Regions from separate parts of the Homo sapiens genome. Here region 1 is linked to region 2. Evidence: promoter capture Hi-C in 16 types of primary human blood cells and fetal thymus (Javierre and others, 2016). All regions are on one chromosome and are shown on one strand. Each heading gives the region's core, a stretch centred on a gene start or on the middle of the fragment in contact. The rest is flanking DNA. Distances are from core to core; before and after follow the strand shown.

What was found. The method cuts DNA at HindIII sites, captures the fragments that hold promoters and counts their contacts. A CHiCAGO score of 5 or more calls a contact.
Region 1: a contact is called between a fragment that was not itself captured here and the fragment with the promoter of MCHR2-AS1 in region 2, in 8 of 17 cell types (M0 macrophages, erythroblasts, M2 macrophages and 5 more). The highest score is 8.8, in M0 macrophages.

Annotation. Positions count from the first base shown.
Region 1 is chr6:100,524,787-100,527,486 of GRCh38, forward strand. All of the region lies in intron 37 of ASCC3 (activating signal cointegrator 1 complex subunit 3), which reads right to left. Among named protein-coding and RNA genes, the nearest start is that of SIM1, 61 kb to the left of the region's middle. The HindIII fragment of the contact is 500 bases long and covers 1,167-1,666 here.
Region 2 is chr6:99,992,627-99,995,326 of GRCh38, forward strand. MCHR2-AS1 (MCHR2 antisense RNA 1) reads left to right here and starts at 1,412. Exons shown (of 3, transcript NR_038384.1): 1 at 1,412-1,578. MCHR2 (melanin concentrating hormone receptor 2) reads right to left here and starts at 1,597. Exons shown (of 6, transcript NM_001040179.2): 1 at 1,310-1,597. The HindIII fragment of the contact is 7,930 bases long and covers 1-2,700 here.

The DNA.
Region 1 (2,700 bases), core at 167-2,666, 530 kb after region 2:
CCTCCCTTTATCCTTCCTCCTCTTCAAGGAACCTTTCCTCCTTTTTCCCATATCTCTTGTCATCATCTTAATGTATCTAGTGTTAGTATAGGGATTACAATAAACATACGAAAATAAGATCACTGCCAGGAGCAGTGGCTCACGCCTGTAATCCCAGCACTTTGGGAGGCCAAGGCAGGACAATCACTTAAACCCAGGAGTTCAAGACCAGCTTGGGAAACAGTGAGATCCCATTAAAAAAAAATTGCTGGGTGTGGTGGTGTGTGCCTGTGGTCCTAGTTACTTGGAGCCTGAGGTGGAAGGATCGTTTGAGCCCAGGAGGTTGAGGCTACTATACTCCAGTGTGGGTGACAGAGTGAGACCCTGTCTCAAAAAAAAAAAAAAAAAAAAAAAAAAAGAAAGAAAGAAAAAGAAAAAGAAAAGAGAAAATAAGATCATGACAAAGGTTGAAGTGAGGCATGTCTGTTCAAATTAAATGACATGGGGATGATATATTGTCATCAGAGTTTAAAAGAAAGAAATTTATTTATGCCAAAATGAGAAAAATTACATTAATTTATAAAAACCAAGTTGTTATTTATAAAGTATCACAAGAATGCAAAACACTATGGAAAGATCATCAAAAACAGGAAAGTTTGAGAAACTTTCAGAGCCAAGAGGAGCCGGAGAAATGACTACTGAATTTAAAGGGATATCTACAATGAGACTCCAGAATAGAAAACGGCATTAGGGATCATCACACATTGTATACCTGTATCAAAATGTTATATGTACCCTCAACATAGGTACAAGTATTATATATCAAGAAAAAAATTTTAAAAAGAAAAAGGATATTAGGTGAAAAAGAATTGTGAATAAGTATAGACTTTAGTTAATAATTATTTGCCAAAATTGGCTTATTAATTGTAGCAAATGTACCTTACTAATATATTTAAGACGTCAATATTAGAAGAAAAATAGGTTCTAGGTATATGGGAACTTTGTACTATCTTTGCAACTTTTCTGGAAATGTAAAACTATTCTCAAGCAAAAAGTTTATTTAAAAAAATTACGGAAATTGATCCTAGGCAGCTTGTTAAAACATTAGTTGTTAGACATCTGCTAGAAAATGCACTATTTAGTTCAAGAGCTCCCAGAAGTTTTACAATGATGGGAAAACCTGAAAAAGCTTTCTTGACAGAAAAGCCACTCCTTTAAAGGTTCAGGTCACTTGCAAGTAATGATACAATATTTTGTCAATAATTAAAATGCTATAAGTACATTTATAAGAATCTTTTTCAATAGCAACAGTTGTTCATAGTAACTTTCTCCTGAACTTTTACCCCCAGAAGGTTAGCATTCAGGAAGCTCAGCTGCTGTCTAACAAACTTAATTAATCAAAAAGTCATTTCCGAGCTGTAACTATGAGTAAAAGCGCTTCAAGTGTGCTAGCAAGCCTACAAGTTAATCAAAATGCTAATGCAGTACAAATTAAAGTTGTGATTAACATTTCACAGTAGCTGCTTAAGTGAATTGATCACACAAATGGGTTAAGCATTACTCATTTCCTACAGCCCCAACCGGGAAAAGGGTTGTTATGTGGGTATAAGGAGAGGAGCAGGGGGTAGAAGGATCCTTCATAATAGCATCATATCATCAACAAACCACCACCAAATTGTTATACAAAAGCTTACAGGTAAAGTCACCCAGAGGGAAAACAGCCTTCCAAATTATATTATAGTCCTTGAAGGGAGATTGGCTATAAATCCACAAGAGTAAGTAAAGGTGTTTAACACCTCAAAATCCACACATTTGTGTTAGTTTTGGGAAAGCTAAATGCATCAACTCTGTATCACTTCCCTAGTGGAGAATGGTGCTTTGTTTTAGGTGGTGTTTTGGGAGATAAAATATAGCTTTGACCATCTAGGACTAGGATTCTGCACCACTGTGTGGTCCTTTGCATTTGGAAGAATAATCACTCAGGATTAAGTTCATTTAGAATTATTTGTTTTTAGTCATCCACTAATACGACTTCATCAGGTTTTTATGGCAGAATATGAACTCCGGGCAGTCTGGCCAGGAATGCAGCCTGAATTAGATTTCACCTTCATCTCTATGAATTTGATAAGGTCACATTAATACTTACAATAAGTAAACTACATTTGTTTGTGGATAATTCAGATTTGGCAGAAAATCTTAAAAACATTGTAAGACTCCACAAACAAAAAATCTCTTTTTCCAGTCTTGCCTATAAAAGAACTAAAAAGAAAAAAGTGAAATATTTATTTACCTATGATACACTGAGATCTATATACCCCAAGCATTGTACTCAAGTCACCTTAACAGTCGGTGTTGTTATAGTTGATAAGTTTCCAGCATACTTTAGATGATACAAAAGACCCCAATGTATGCTTATAGTATTAATGCTCATAGTTCCTTGAAACATATCCATAAATTATTTACTTATAATCTACCCATCTTTTTCTCAAAATGATTAGAAGAAGCTTTCTGAAGCTTCTTGCGCAGTACTGTCTATTTAAAGAGAACGTTTTCTTGGTCTAATTATAAGCATTTAAAAATTTGAAAAGATTCTACAGTAATACACAAGACTTTATCTACCATTTGCTATATCAAAACATTTCGTACAGGTATTGCATTAAGGGTTTCACCAAGTACTTCTATTGTTAAGCTCAGCAATACCTGGACTATTTTCACTGCTAA
Region 2 (2,700 bases), core at 162-2,661:
AACATTCTGTGGCCTGTACATTGGTGGTACTTTATTCCCCAGGCTTGAAAAACTTTTTTCTTGTAATTGGAATGCTTTGTGCAGTCTAATAGTCTGTGTTAGGCTAAGAGTCGAATAACATTGCCCTTGTAATTATCTTGTCATAGCCATAAGACAGTAAGTGAGGGCATGTCTGCTCTGCAAAAGGCCAATTCAATTGTGACATTAAACATATGCCTGATCCAAATGAAACACAAATAATGGGTTACCAACCCAATCCAGTCATTTCCAGCCAGTCAGCATCCCCACCCCCCCATCTCTACCCACTAAGTTATACTAACAAACAGGTTATTATTTAAGTAGAAAAATGCATTATTAAGAAGTCAGAAAACATTCATTGAAAACAGATTGCCTCCCCATTTGCGCTGAGCTAAGTTCTATGAAATTAGAACTGCGCATTCCTCAAATCCAGAAGATTTTGTGTTCATGCCTGATTCTTTAGTGGTAGCTTCAGGGCCATTTTAATAAGAAGATTCCACCTCAAACAAAGATATTAGGCTTTGGGGCAAAGCCTCATTAAAAAATACAAGAAGCACATTTTTAGAAAGAATTTTTCAAAGGCTGTCAGAAGCCCCAGCTGAGTTGCAAAGGGCCTAGGCTACCACCTGCCTACTTTCCCCAGTTCTCTGACAGCCGCTAACTAACTTCCCTAGGGCCACTGAGGAGTTCAGATGACCTGACCGTGCAGGAGTCCTGTGACAGAGGAATAATATTAACTAAGTTAACTAAGTGGGAATGGGGGCTTCACAGAAGGCCGTCCGGAGGCGCGTACAGGGGACACGGGGATCTACCTGGAGGAAGAACTGAATTTGTCTTTTCTAGTTCAAAAAAGCCTTCCCGAACTCTTAGCAAACAAGCCAGTGATCGCCTCCTCGCCTTCGCCACTTCAGTTCAGCCTCTTTAGTCCCCATGGAGAGCCGGGATGAACTAGCCCGGCGCGCTCCAGCGGTCTCGGTCGGGGCCGCTGCTTCCCGGAAAGCCACTCCCTTTTTCTTTTCCCACCTGTGTTTCCATTTTCTTTGCCGAGTGTGAAACCAGCCGGCCACCCACCCGCCCCGCTCCGTCTCGTAGGTGCCTCCACAGAGCCAAACTTTGTACCTTCTGGGGATGGAGGGGGATCCCCCAGCAATCAGACACTACCGGCGAGCCAGCCCCGGGGAGGGGCGACTGGTGGACCAGGCGCCAGACCTTCCCGGGCGCGCAGCCCACGGGCCCTGGGGCGCGCCCACGCCAGAGCCCGGCCCTCGCGCGGCAGCCCGCGGGACGTCACCTGGGTGCTCGCGTCCTCCCCGCGCGGCGGACAGCCCGGGCGCCCTTCCTCTCTGCGGGACTGCAGGTCTATCCGCTAAGCGCGCGTGACCAAAAACGGCTCTCAGCGGGTCCCAGCTGACGGAAGGTGGGGGAGGAGTGCGAGGGTCTCTGAGACAGGTTGGGAGCCAGCCCCACCTCCATTTCCAAAGCGGGGGTCCAGGCACAGGAACAGCCAAACGCCCGAACCAGCGGGGTTACCTTTGCCACTTCATCCAATCCGAGCATCGGGTGCGTCGTGCTCTTTTCTAGGAGCGTGGGGTGCCTTCGCGAATAAAATCTGAAGGCATCTCTGCTCTCGCGGAGCTTGTTCTTTCTTATTTTCAAGTGCTTATCTAGACTGGTAGTCACTAAAGTTCCTGTGAACATTTGTAGGTGTTTTCAGCTAAGCAGTAATAGAAACTCGACCTCCATTTTATATGAACAAGTGTTTATTGATGTACCAAAGGTTTAAAGGAAGGGAAAGGGGAAAGGAGAGAGGAAAGAAGAAACCCATAATACCACCAAGGAACTTGTTTTGTTTTCACGAACTTTTAATCCACCCAGTACAACTGCTTTATAATGATCTTTAGCTTCATGCTTGCACCCTGATCAAATCTGCTGGCCTTAGTAGCTACTTAGCAAATAAGGTGACAAGGACGAAGCTGGAGTTGGATCACTTTCCACCCAAGGGAGCCTCATACGATTTTGGAGACAGGCAGCCCGCCCCGCATTCCACCTCAGCTTTATCATTTACTGTTAGGCATATGACCTCGGGCAGGTTCTTTAATGTTTCTCATCCTCAGTTGCTCATTTGGTACTACCAGAATTGTAAAACTGCCCTCCCAGGGATGCTAAGAGGCTTCACTGGCTTGACATATGCAAAAGCCCTCAAATCAGGCCTGCCATGTAGTTAGTGCTCAATATGTGGTCCCTATGATAATTATAGTCATTAGAGCACCTTTCAGAATCCTTCCTTCATCTATAAGATGAGTAGTCAGAGTGGCATGGCAAAATGTCCTGTATTTCACATTAAGTTAGGAAAATGAGAAAAACTTGAAAGGTTAGTGAAATTGGTTAAAATTTCAAAATTCAACAGATCAGAATTTTTAAAAGCAAGTGTAGAGTCAATGATTATACATTTCAGAACTGGAAGTCGCCTTAGAGTTAGTGTTTGTGCAAAAAGACATCATCTCTAAAATCTCTCAGAAAAATCAAGGAGATATGAGGATGGGAGATTAAATTTAAAGAGAATTTGGATTTCAAAGTGGGAGATTTCAAAGCATCTCTTAGGAAAGAAAAACAAGAAGAAACACTTGACCCATTTATTAGGCTGATTATCTAAACGCCCTCTACAATACCCTTGTGGAAAAG